3 separate regions of the Homo sapiens genome follow, and all the other regions are linked to region 3. Evidence: promoter capture Hi-C in human tissues and cell types (Jung and others, 2019). All regions are on one chromosome and are shown on one strand. The core of a region is centred on a gene start or on the middle of the fragment in contact, and the rest is flanking DNA. Distances in the headings are between cores, read along the strand shown. Region 1 overlaps LARP1B (La ribonucleoprotein 1B). Region 2 overlaps LARP1B (La ribonucleoprotein 1B). Region 3 holds the start of MFSD8 (major facilitator superfamily domain containing 8).

Region 1 (4,121 bases), core at 1,585-4,084, 200 kb after region 3:
AGAGCCACAAACTGTGGTTACATGCACGTACATGGATCAGTCTCATAAACATAATTTTGCATGAAAGAAACCATGTGGTGTAATTCAATTTTTATAAAGTTCAGAAACATGCAAAACACCTACTGTATTGAAGGTGTATGAGCTATTTTGGGGGAGAAAGAGGAGATCCTGACCAGAAGGGACATGAAAAGGAAGCTTCTAGGGTGCTAATAATTGCTTTACCTGAATGGTGATTAAGTCTGTTTACCTTCGATTATTCATTGAGATATATACTTATGATTTGTACACTTCTTGTGTGTGTGTGTGTGTGTATGTTATACATTAATGAATTAGTTAAAAATAAAAATAAACAAAAACATACACAACTTGTGTTTCCATCAGGGTAGAATTGTGTTATTTATCTCTGGCATGTAGTAAACATACAATAATTATTTATAGAATTGGGAGTTGCTAATAGCAAGCTCTGTAGCAAGATAAAGGACAAGAGGAGTGAGCAATGATTCTGATTTAGCCTGAAGAGCTTATTGAAAACTTTTGAGGAAGAAATGTTGATAAATATACATTTTGATGTAATTAAAGGTACTTTAGTGAAAAAAGATCATAATCTAAAAGGCTAACATTGGGATTTAATAAATGGTTTGAGCTGACAAGTGACTTCATCTTTGAAGACAGAAGGAAAAGATTCTTTTGTTATTAAGAGCAAGCTACAACTATTTTGTAATGATATTTAATTTCCTTCCTGTTTTAAATTTGCTTCAACCCGAAAAATTCTTTCTTATGTTTTTTACTTGCTTAAACCCGCTTTGGATGTTGCCCTGTAAAGATTCATGTACCCATTAGTACCATGTGGAGTAGATGTGATATAGGGTTTTATTGGGAAAAACTTAGAAGAAATAGTGGAGTGTAAGCAGTCCCTCAAACTCCTTTTTTATCTCACAGTTTAGGCCAGACATAGAGGGTCTTTATGGTTCACCTGGGTGAACCATAGGGTTCAACCTTTAGGGTTCAACCTTTAAGTTCACCTGTGGCCAAGTGAACTTCCAGTAGAGAATGACCTCTACCCTCTGTAATGCTCCACACATTTGTAGGTCAGGGCCGGAAACACTTAAGTGACTATGCAATAGTAGTTACAAAGGGGAAGCCTCCAGAACCCCAGAGGCAGGGAGGGGTCTATTCTTCCTTTGAGCTAACAACTCAAATATACTGAGTCTCTTTGCTGCAGCTATCCAGGGCCATCCAGATTTATCTTTATCACATGCATCCCATTATTATAAAACAAAGTGAAATCTTCTTGACCCAGTATTAAAGGTCTTCTAGTAGCTTTCTCCAACTTCCTCATCAGTCCTCTTTGCCACTGGTTCTACACAGATTTTCTTAGTCACTTAATTACTTTGTAATAAACACATTGCTTTTTCCAAGCTTCTTATCTTTGCTCTCATTACCTATTTAGAATGTTTCTCCCTTTCTCTAAATTCTCATCCTTCAAGAGGTGCTTTTGTCCCATCTCTCCTGTGATGGCTTCCTGATGATCGTAATTCTTACACCAATATCGCTCTTCACATACTACCTAATATTATTTATTTTTATGTGTTCATTTCTTCCTTTTCATCTAACATATAAATTCCTTAATGGTAGGGAACATGTATTAGATTACTTTGTAACGTCTGTAATACCTGGTAGTCTTGTATGTAAATGCTCAACAAATAATTAATGATTAGTATGTGTGGTCTTATAATGTTTTTTAATTATAAAATCATTATAATATTTTAGGGTGTTATATGCCTCTTAGATTCTGAATGTTGTTATTAAGTATAATGCTAGACTCTTTATTAGAACGTCTTTTTCACTCCATTGTAATTAATCCCTGTTTTAGAAGTTCATTTTTTTGAGGTTGGTATCAATTATTGTCTGTTGGTTACTCTGTTAGCCAGTTTAGTAATTAGATTCCTCCATTCTACTTCAGCAAGAAGTTGAGAACTTTAAGAAGCTAAATCTCATTAGTAAAGAGCAGTTTGAAAACCTAACACCTGAACTTCCTTTTGAGCCAAACCAAGAAGTTCCTGTAGCACCTTCACAGTCCAGGCAAGGTATGTAAATCTGCTTTTGTGTAAGTGTCTGAATAGTATTAAAGCAGTTCTGAATTGTTTTTAAAAATTGCTCCTTTTTTTTCTTTATTTGTGGAAAATCATTAGGTAAATGGTAAAATGCTAGAATTTTAAAACTCAACTTTTATCCTTTTGTGAACTTCTATTATCACACCAGATTATGCTCAAAGCCAGAGGCTTACTTAGAAGTAGGCAGAATTTGTTGGTTCTTTATGTATCTGATGTGATTTTAAGATTGCTGGGAATGTTTCTCTTCCCAAAATAAAATTTTTCACTGACTCACTGATCCTTAGAATGCGCTAGAGTCATTCTTTTGTTTTAAGGGCTTAGCTCTGTGTGAGAGTGTAAATAAATACATTGGGAGATCCATAAATTGAATCTGACATTTCAGACAAGTATAACTGATTTTATTATAGCCTTTTCCTGAAGGTGGTTAAAAAAATGATTTATAAAAAGTCACACATATACAAAGATAGAGTGAATTTTATAATAAAACTCCCATGTACCTGCTATACTTAATCATCTCATACCCAATTTTGTCTCGACTCCAGTAACTCCTATACCTCCCTGTGGATTATTTTTAAACAAATTCTCAATCACATGATTCATATTTTTTTGTCCTTAAAGATTTCTGTATGTGTCTTTAAAAAGATAAGGGCTATATCTTTTAACACATAAATAGCAGGACATTATCATATCTAAAATTAACAGTAATTCCTTAACGTTAGATATCTAGTGTTCAAATTTCCTCATTCATCACTTTTTTTTTCCAGTTTCTTCAAATAGATTGCAATAGATTGATATGTCTTTTTTAGTCTACAGGTTTCTACTATTTTTTGCCTTATAATTTATTGGTCCTTGCAATTTGGTATTGAAGAAACTGGGTTGTTTGTCTTGTAGAATTTTTCACATTCTGAATTTTGCTGATTGCATCCCCATGGTTTCATTTAACCTGTTTTCTAGTCCTGAATTATCTATAACTGTTAGTTCAGCATAGAGACTTGATTAGATTAAGACTCAAATCTCTGTAAGAATATGTCATATGTAGTATTGAATACTATTAGGAGATACATAATGCTCTATTGTCTCTTTTTGTAATGTTAGCAGTCATTGATGATCAGTGAGTGAAGCTTTTATTTTACTAGGGGTTGCAAAATAGTGATGATTCTATTTTTAATCATTACGTCTTACCTTAATAGGTAGAATACTTTTATAAAGAGAACTTTCCCCAGAATATTTATTTATTCTGAGATAGAGTTCTTACAGGAAAGTGAGTCAGTGCTGAATTATTTCCCTTTGTTTACTAGTTTCAAAGTACTAGCTGGTTCCTTAACATTCTTCGCTGGTGACTAATGAAGTTTTTGTTTGTTTGTTTTTAAATGATCATTGTGAACTCATAAATACATGAGATGGGTTTCATTCTATTACAGTTATTATTATTATTATTGATACCTATGCCAGTTATCAGTTTATTGACTTTTAGCTCTAAAGCCACCTTTCATTTTCTTGCTCAGTAATAATGGAGTTGGACTGTTAACTTTAATGTTTCCCACCCCACAGAAGGTTGAGCCCCCACCAAGGTTGAGCTTTGTCAGTACCGGATCTGCTACTCAGTTGGTCCTTGTTTCTAGGCCTTTTGAATAGAAAGAGCTAGGAAATTTTTTAAGGAGAAAAATATATTACGTATTCATGTTGATATTTTCTGTCTAAATTTAAGATTATAGGTTTTAATTTTAATTTCTTTGATTTTGTAGTTGTATTGCTTTTTACTTATATATAAAAAATCTTTCTTCCTAACCACAGTAACATAATTATTTATTTGCTAATCCTATGATATAATAGTTCCAGAATAACAATAACATTAAATAATAATATTATAAATACTGAAAGGTAACTTCTTTTAGAGTTCTTTAAACTGTAAACTTTTAAAAACTTCATACTTTAAAGCTTTCTTTAAAGTTCTTAGTGTGTCCCACTAGGGCTGTTCAGTTAAATTGCTGGATTTTTTGCCTTGTT
Region 2 (4,462 bases), core at 1,005-3,504, 180 kb after region 3:
ATTTTATTAACATATCTTTTTATGATTGGAATGAATAATTTCAGGAATGCACAAATATTTCCAGAGAATAGAGCTAATAATAAGTCAAATATTTGTGGAAAGGGTAGTGGTGGGGGAGAACACTTATGAGAAGAACATATCTTTGGTACCTGAGCTGTACATAAGAAATTAGAATTCATGAGAACGTGAATGAGAGTCAGGCATTACCTAGGTATAAAAAGGCTAAACAGCTGGGCATGGTGGCTCATGCCTGTAATCCCAACCTTTTGTGAGGCCAAGCCAGGTGGATTACCTGAGGTCAGGAGTTCAAGACCAGCCTGGCCACCGTGGTGAAATCCTATCTCTACTAAAAATACAAAATTAGCCAGGCATGGTGGTAGGCACCTGTAGTCCGAGCTACTTGGGAGGCTGAGGCATGAGAATCGCTTGAACCTGGGAGGCAGTTGCATTGAGCCGAGATCATGCCACTTCACTCCAGCCCGGGTGACAGAGTGAGACTCTCAAAAAATAATAATAATAATTTAAAAAGGTCTAAACAATATTTTAGTAAACCAAATATAGCAGTTTTTTAAAAAACAGATAACCAAGTTGTGTTCATTTCAAGATCATGGATTAATTGTACATAAGAAAAGTTAGTAAAGGAAATTCACATTAACGGATTGAAGAAAGATTGTGATCACTTGAATAAAAAAGAAAAAAATAGAAGAAAATAAAGAAAAATATTTGAGGTGATTGATATCCCCATTACCCTGATGTGATCATTACACATTGTATACAGGTATCAAAATGGCACATGTACCCCAGAAGTATGTACAACTAATATACATATATCAGTTTTTTTAAGAAGCATAAAAAGTCCCCAAACCAGTAACAGTCTAGGCATTAAAGAATATCTGTAAGTCAGGCATAGTGCTGTGCACCTGTAGTCCCAGCTATTCTAGAGGCTAAGGCAGGAGGATCCCTTGAGCCCAAAAATTCAGTGCTGTAGTGTGTGATGATCACAGCTGCGATGTAGTGTGCACCTGTGAATGGCCACTGCACTCCAGCCTGGGCAATATAGTGAGGCCCATCTCTTAAAATAGAAGAAAAGAATCCATAAAGTAGATTTACTAAATGCTTGTAACTGTATAACTGTTAAAAAAAAAAACAAAAAAACAGTATAAGATCGTGCCATTGCACTCCAGCCTGGGCGACAGAGTGAGACTGTCACACACACACACACACAAAAGATTCAGTATACTGCTTATAAGACATGAACAAACTTTTTACAAAAGAAGAAGTCTAAATGACTGAGAACATGAAAAGATGTTCAACATTATTAGTCAAGGAGATGAAAATATTTCAATGAAATAGTTCATAAAACTTATATTAGCAATGTTAAGACATCAGATGGTAAGTAGAGTTTGGGAGTATTTGGAGCAAGAACCTCAATCTGTGGGAATAAAAAATGGTAAACCATATGCTATGATCCACCATTTCCACTCAGGAATATATTCTCGAGTTGCATTGTTTAGTAGACATTAACCACATGTAGTTATTGAGCCCTTGAAATGTGGCTAGTCCAAATAGGATGTGTTTTAAATGTAAAATACTGGATTTTGAAGACTTAGTAACAAAAAGGAATATAAAATATCTCAAATTTTAATAATTATTGCATGTCGAAATAGATTATTTAAAATGTACATCTTGTATATTTTTTGTAGTTATGGGAAATTTAAGATTACATTGTGTTTGTATTGGCTGGCACTACCCTGGAGGAATTTAGATGTGTTCACCAGGAGCAGTATGTAATAATGTAGCAGAATAATTCATTATAGTCACAAATTGAAAATATTTGAAGTATCTATCAGTAGCTGACTATGTCATCATTATAGTAGTGAAAAGTAGCTATATAGTAGAGAAAAAAATGATTGCCATACACATCTTTATGAATACATCTAGAAAACAATGCTGAATGAAAGAAGTGAGGGTTCATACACAATATGACTCCACAAAACTCAAGAACAGATCAAATGAAACATGATTTTTTAGGTACACTTAACGTATATAGATGGTTGCATAAAGAAAAACCTGGAATAATTACTACGTAAGTCAGAATTTGTTCATTGTGGGGGCTGGGGGGAGGTGTAGGATCCTCAGAAGTTTCTAAAATACTAACAGTTGTGTTTCTGGTAGTTGTTACATGAATGCGTTATAAGTTGCACATGTATATTTTATGCATTATTCTAGGAGACATATTTCATAACAATACTAAAAGGCTAGAATTAAAGGGGGATGGGTAGTACAAAAGAGGCAAGCCAAAGCTGATTTATTTACTTCTTGAAGCTGCCACATTGTTGTTCCTTGGTCTAAAGTCAAGGTAGGTTAATTGTCTCTGTTTTTTTTTTTGGCAGAGTCTTGCTCTGTCGCCCAGGCTAGAGTGCAGTGGCGTGATCTCGGCTCACTGCAACCTCCGCCTCCCGGGTTCAAGCGATTCTGCTGCCTCAGCCTCCCAAGTAGCTGGGATTACAGGCATGCACCACCATGCCTGGCTAATTTTTGTATTTTTAGTAGAGATGGAGTTTCATCATCTTGGCCAGGCTGGTCTTGAACTCCTGACCTCGTGATCCACCTGCCTCGGCCTCCCAAAGTGCTGGGATTACAGGCATGAGCCACCGCACCTGGCCAATTGTCTCTGCTTTTTTGCGTCCAGCTATTTGTCTTCCTTTCCAGTGGTCTGCTTGAGTGGTATAAATCTGTACAGTATTGAAGACTTTGTTAACATAGGATGTAGAGATCAGACGTCCATTCCAAAAATGTGCTGATAGGCCTTTACATCTTATCATTGGTATCATTGGCTAGCGTCTGGGCTCATGAGCTCAGGAATTTCCTGGTCCACTATCTCATGATACCTTCCCCTAACTATAAATGTTTAATTTGTATCTACAGAATAAGAGAGAAACACGTTACAACGAGTTGCTCAGTATTCTATCCTCTGCCCAAGTTGCTTGTGTAGAAACTCAAATATGCTAATGTGTTTATCTCCAACATTTTAGGAAGAACCTTCAAATTTGAAACTTATGAATCACATCTGCTAGTCACTTAATCTCATCGTTAGGCTCATTGCATTTACAGTAGTGAAATATACCAGTTTTGTCCAGTACTACTTATAGTATTATCAGGTGAACTTAACACTCCTCACTGGTGGCCTAAACATCAGTTCCCAGAATTTTTCTTGGAGGTACTTAGCTTTGTGGTATTTGAGAGAACATTTCCAGTTGTTAGATGATTGAGACCATCAGCAAGCACGTTGTTGAGAGGTTACACTCTCAACAAGAAAGCGTACCTCTAGTGGCTTTCTTCTGCCTTGACCCAGACAGCATTCTGGAATTATTGGGGTCCTTGAGCCTTGGAAGACTGGATAGCTCTCATTCACTTTGACTTTGCTGATTACTTCACTCTCTTATGCAGCATTCCCCCTTACAAATGAGGCAAGTCCTTACCTGTATTTATTTCAGATAGTGAAAGGAACTTCAGTTGTGGCAGAGTATTTGGTATAAAGGTGGACATGCTGTACACATTTATCAGGAGATGGCTGGCAGACAGAAACAATAGCTTCATACTGACTTGTCAAGAGGAGAGTCATGTAAACTTCCTGTCTCCTCACCACCACTTGAGCTGACCTTTTCTCATTAGAGAAGTGCACCAAGTTGAGAACCTGTCTGGCAAAGCCTGTTCTTGACCAGCAGTCAACTATGTGCAAGTTCCACTGGGAGTGCAGTTCTGGACCAACACCTAACTTCTGTGAATCTCAGGTGGGGATCATTCTTACCCTGTCCACCTCATGAGGTTGTAAAGAATTTGAAAACTGTAAAAAACTGGGCATATATGAAGAAAGAACAAAGACCAGATGGTTATGTGGGACCAGAAACAATGCTACAAATGGAGGAAAGACCAGGAATTTAAGGAATGTAGAAGCTTAGGCAGCCTTTACATAGAAACTGTGCCATCAAAGTACAGTCTGTGGAGTTCTTCCAGGTGCCACAGTTCCATTATTAGTCCTCTTATGTTGTATATTTCTTTCTTTTTTTTTTTTTTTGAGATGGAGTTTCGCTCTTGTTGCCCAGGCTGGAGTTCAATGGCGCGATCTCTGCTCACTGCAGCCTCTGCCTCCCGGGTTCAAGCTATTCTTCTGCCTCAGCCCCCCGAGTATCTGGGATTACAGGCATGCGCCACCACACCTGGCTAATTTTGTATTTTTAGTAGAGACGGGGTTTCTCCATGTTTCTCAAACTGGTCTCGAACTCCCAACCTCAGGTGATCTGCCCGCCTTGGCCTACCAAAGTCCTGGGATTACAGGCGTGAGCCACTGTGCCTGGGTTATGTTGTATATTTCAAAATACAAAATTCTTTTACACTCTTCCTAACACCTTACTCTGAAAGACTTCTCAGATCGCTTTCCTTTCATGGACAACGTGAGCTC
Region 3 (4,084 bases), core at 864-3,363:
TAGGTATACATTCCCGAGTCACTGCCCATAAACTAGGATCAGAACAACCAGAATTATAAGGATCAAAATACTGACGTTATTCCTTTAATGCCTTAAAATTAGTCTTTCTTTGTACATTTGGCATAGGACAAAGGCGAGCTCATTTTGGACAGATTTGTTAAACTATCAAGAGGTTGTCAGGCAATTAGGCAGCAGGTCATTACTAAGACCGATACCTTCAAGTATCTATTAAAACCATCATTTTGAAACTGTGAAATCTGGAAAGTGATCAGCTACAAAGGGCCAAATATGGAATGCAGAAGATACAGAATGTGGTGGCTTTGTGTCCGGGATTGGTGGGTTCTTGGTCTCACTGACTTCAAGAATGAAGCTGCGGACCCTCGCGGTGAGTGTTAACAGCTCTTAAGGTGGCACGTCTGGAGTTTGTTCCTTCTGATGCTCAGATGTGTTCAGAGTTTCTTCCTTCTGGTGGGTTCGTGGTCTCGCTGGCTCAAGAGCGAAGCTGCAGACCTTCGTGGTGAGTGTTACAACTCTTAAGGCGGCGCGTCTGGAGTTGTTCGTTCCTCCCCGTGGTCTCGCTGGCTTCAGGAGTGAAACTGCAGACCTTCGCGGTGAGTGTTACGGCTCATAAAAGCCGTATGGTCCCAAAGAGTGAGCAGTAGCAAGATTTATCGCAAAGAGCGAAAAAACAAAGCTTCCACACTGTGGAAAGGGACCTCAGCGGGTTGCCACTACTGGTGGGCAGCCTGCTTTTATTCTCTTATCTGGCCCCACCCACATCCTGCTGATTGGTAGAGCCGAGTAGTCTGTTTTGACAGGGCGCTGATTGGTGCGTTTACAATCCCTGAGCTAGACACAAAGGTTCTCCACGTCCCCACTAGATTAACTAGATACAGAGTGTTGACAGAAAGGTTCTCCAAGGCCCCACCAGAGTAGCTAGATACAGAGTGTCGACTGGTGCATTCACAAACCCTGAGCTAGACACAGGGTGCTGATTGGTGTGTTTACAAACCTTGAGCTAGATACAGAGTGCCGATTGGTGTAGTTACAATCCCTGAGCTAGACATAAACGTTCTCCACGTCTCCACCAGACTCAGGAGCCCAGCTGGCTTCGCCCAGTGGATCCCGCACCGGGGCTGCAGGTGGAGCTGCCTGCCAGTCCCGCGCCGTGCACCCGCACTCCTCAGCCCTTGGGTGGTCGATGGGACTAGGCACCGTGGAGTAGGGAGCGGCGCTCATCGGGGAGGCTCGGGCCGCACAGGAGCCCACGGAGTGGGTGGGAGGCTCAGGCATGGCGGGCTGCAGGTCCCGAGCCCTGCCCCGCGGGAAGGCAGCTAAGGCCCGGCGAGAAATCGAGCGCAGCGCCAGTGGGCTGGCACTGCTGGGGGACCCAGCACACCCTCCGCAGCCGCTGGCCCGGGTGCTAAGCCCCTCATTGCCCGGGGCCGGCAGGGCCGGCCTGCTGCTCCCAGTGCGGGGCCCGCCAAGCCCACGCCCACTCGGAACTCCAGCTGGCCCGCAAGCGCGGCGCGCAGCCCCGGTTCCCGCTCACGCCTCTCCCACCACACCTCCCTGCAAGCTGAGGGAGCCGGCTCCCACCTTGGCCAGCCCAGAAAGGGGCTCCCACAGTGCAGCGGTGGGCTGAAGGGCTCCTCAAGTGCCGCCAAAGTGGGAGCCCAGGCAGAGGAGGCCTGGAGAGCGAGCAAGGGCTGTGAGGACTGCCAGCACGCTGTCACCTCTCAGCTTGGGTGCTGCAACAGGCAAAGCAGCAGCCTGGGTTTCTCCAGCCCCGTCACTCGAACCCACGGGCTCATCACCGCACGGTGCGGCCAGACGCCCTTTCTCCTACGTTGGGAGCGAATCTCCTCGGCTCACACAACCCAGCCACCGGCTCCCACCGCGCTGGAACCCCTCTGGCAGCGAGGGTTTGTCCCAGTGCGGGTGACGCCCGGAAAGGAACCAGTCCCAACAGCGCAGGAGACTGAGGGGTCCCTCCACCAGGATCCGCTCACCTGCTTCCAGGTGTGTCGCCTAAGAGCGGCTCCTGTTCACTTTCGTTCCGCAGGCCGGCCATAGTTACACTCCCTACAAGGCGTCTTGCGCCCAACTCTCGCGACACCTGCTTTCTCCCATCCCGGGTGGCGTGAAGCTGGCAAAACAAGCCTGTAAGTGCGCGTGCGCACCTGACGGTCAGACGTAGGCGGAACGCCCCGAGGTCATAGGCGGGGTCACGCGGAAGGCCGGGCAGCGCAGGGCGAAAGGAGGCTGTGTCCTCAGCCTCCTCCCTCGGCACGCGCCTCCCATCCTGACGGGGACTGAGAGCCCAGGAGAGCTCGGGGCGTGTCCAAACTGCCGCGCCGCCCTGCTCCGGGTTTGTCTTCCTCCCTCCGTTTCTCCTTCCGCTGTATCTAGCATTTCGGTTCCTGGAAAGGTTACCGGAGCTGCGATTGGGGCTGGGACCAAAGTTGAGTCCTGGAAAGGGAGCCTGGAGAGCGGCGGTGCTGGGAGGCCCGGCCAGCTCGATCGCAGGCTTCCACCTGGCGGCCAGTAAGTAGCCGGTCCGGTTAAGTAGTAGGTGCGCTAAGAGCTCCCCGCGCCTCTTAGCGCGCCGTGTACGCGCCTGGAGGCAGGGACCGGGGACGCGGAGCTGGGCGGGAGACTCGCGGGTCAGGGACGCGGGGTGAGGCTGGGGGTGAGAGACAAGGCTGGAGTCCGTGGCGCGCTTCGGAGGGCTGAGATAATGGGGGCGAGCGCGCGGGCAGTCCCTTCCCCCCGTGAAAGGTAGAGGTGGCTTCCAGCTCTCTTCTCTAGCTCGGCTAAATGCAAAGGCGCCTTACCTGGAGGGCTTGTCAGAGCCAGGACTGAAGGTGGGATCTGCTGCTTGTAACCTGCAGGTCCCCGGATGCGCACCCCAACGGCGCCTGCGCCTACGGGGGCCTCAGCCTTGCAAAATGTCACTCAGCAGAGCCTGCTGCTGAAACGTGGGAGTTGAAAAAGGTACAGCACCTGCCTAGCAATGACCAGCTCCTTTCGTCACAAGGAAGATGACATTTTTAGAAAACATGTCATGGGTTTTCACTAGATCTCCATGTTTATTTCTTGGTGGTTATGTATTAACATCTTATCTCTACTATTAGGCTTGTAGGCTAGCTGGCGTCAGTAGTCATTCTGTGTCTCATAAATTACCGTTTTATTAGCGCCAGATACATTGTCATGTAATTTCATTTGATCACAAGTATCCTATGAGATAGGCGAAGCAGACACATTGCTAGTTTACTGAAAATTAAGATCCAGACAAGTTAACCCAGAGTCACTCTGTGTGGAAGTGGCAAAGTTGGAAACCAAACTTAATTTTTTTAAATTAATATTTATGAGCATTTACCCTATGCTAGGTCCTATACTAGTTACACAGTCATGTATGGTATATGCCATCACTTCTGATCTTTGTGTCATTTGTGACCTTGTGTGTATCAGCCAGGCGCAGTTCACTGGTGAACACCTAAACTTGAAACGTGCGGTCTGGGTGCGATGGTTCATGCCTGTAATCCCAGCACCTTGGGAGGCCAAGGCGGGCGGATCACGAGGTCAGGAGATCGAGACCATCCTGGCTAACACGGTGAAACCCCGTCTCTACTAAAAATACAAAAAAAAAAAAAAAAAAAAAAAAAAAAAAAAAAAAGCCGGGCGTGGTGGCGGGCGCCTATAGTCCCAGCTACTCGGGAGGCTGAGGCAGGAGAATCCCTTGAACCCGGGAGGCGGAGGCTGCAGTGAGCCGAGATCACGCCACTGCACTCCAGCCTGGGCAACAGAGTGAGATTCTGTCTCAAAAAAAAAAAAAAAACCAAAAACCTTGAAACGTGCTATTCAGAAATATCTTCTAAATCAAGACCTGATATTTTGTACTTGGATTCAGTCTTGCAGATTCATTTGTAACAGCTCACAAAAACAAGTCAGATTTGTATTATTGGTTCCAAAAAGACACATAGGTAGAAAAGTTAGTATTTTCTTGCCATAATGTCGCTTTATTATATTGTCTTTTTTAATTCCTGGGGGCTAGCAATGTATGGCACATATATAGTGGACA

What was found. The method cuts DNA at HindIII sites, captures the fragments that hold promoters and counts their contacts. A contact is called where the count stands out against the background at its distance.
Region 1: a fragment that was not itself captured here is called in contact with the fragment with the promoter of MFSD8 in region 3 in 2 of the 25 tissues and cell types used here (IMR-90 fibroblasts and aorta).
Region 2: a contact is called between a fragment that was not itself captured here and the fragment with the promoter of MFSD8 in region 3, in 2 of the 25 tissues and cell types used here (H1 embryonic stem cells and spleen).

The regions. Positions count from the first base shown.
Region 1 is chr4:128,160,231-128,164,351 of GRCh38, forward strand. LARP1B (La ribonucleoprotein 1B) reads left to right here. Exons shown (of 20, transcript NM_018078.4): 12 at 1,964-2,087. Among named protein-coding and RNA genes, the nearest start is that of LARP1B, 100 kb to the left of the region's middle. The HindIII fragment of the contact is 4,054 bases long and covers 808-4,121 here.
Region 2 is chr4:128,138,448-128,142,909 of GRCh38, forward strand. All of the region lies in intron 11 of LARP1B (La ribonucleoprotein 1B), which reads left to right. Among named protein-coding and RNA genes, the nearest start is that of LARP1B, 79 kb to the left of the region's middle. The HindIII fragment of the contact is 6,686 bases long and covers 1-4,462 here.
Region 3 is chr4:127,963,060-127,967,143 of GRCh38, forward strand. MFSD8 (major facilitator superfamily domain containing 8) reads right to left here and starts at 2,114. Exons shown (of 12, transcript NM_001371596.2): 1 at 2,013-2,114. The coding sequence starts at 2,074. ABHD18 (abhydrolase domain containing 18) reads left to right here and starts at 2,347. Exons shown (of 13, transcript NM_001358451.3): 1 at 2,347-2,547. RefSeq lists silencers at 1,071-1,180, 1,291-1,420, 1,431-1,480, 2,601-2,830 and enhancers at 1,921-2,340, 1,931-2,546, 3,225-3,726, 3,727-4,084. The HindIII fragment of the contact is 8,084 bases long and covers 1-4,084 here.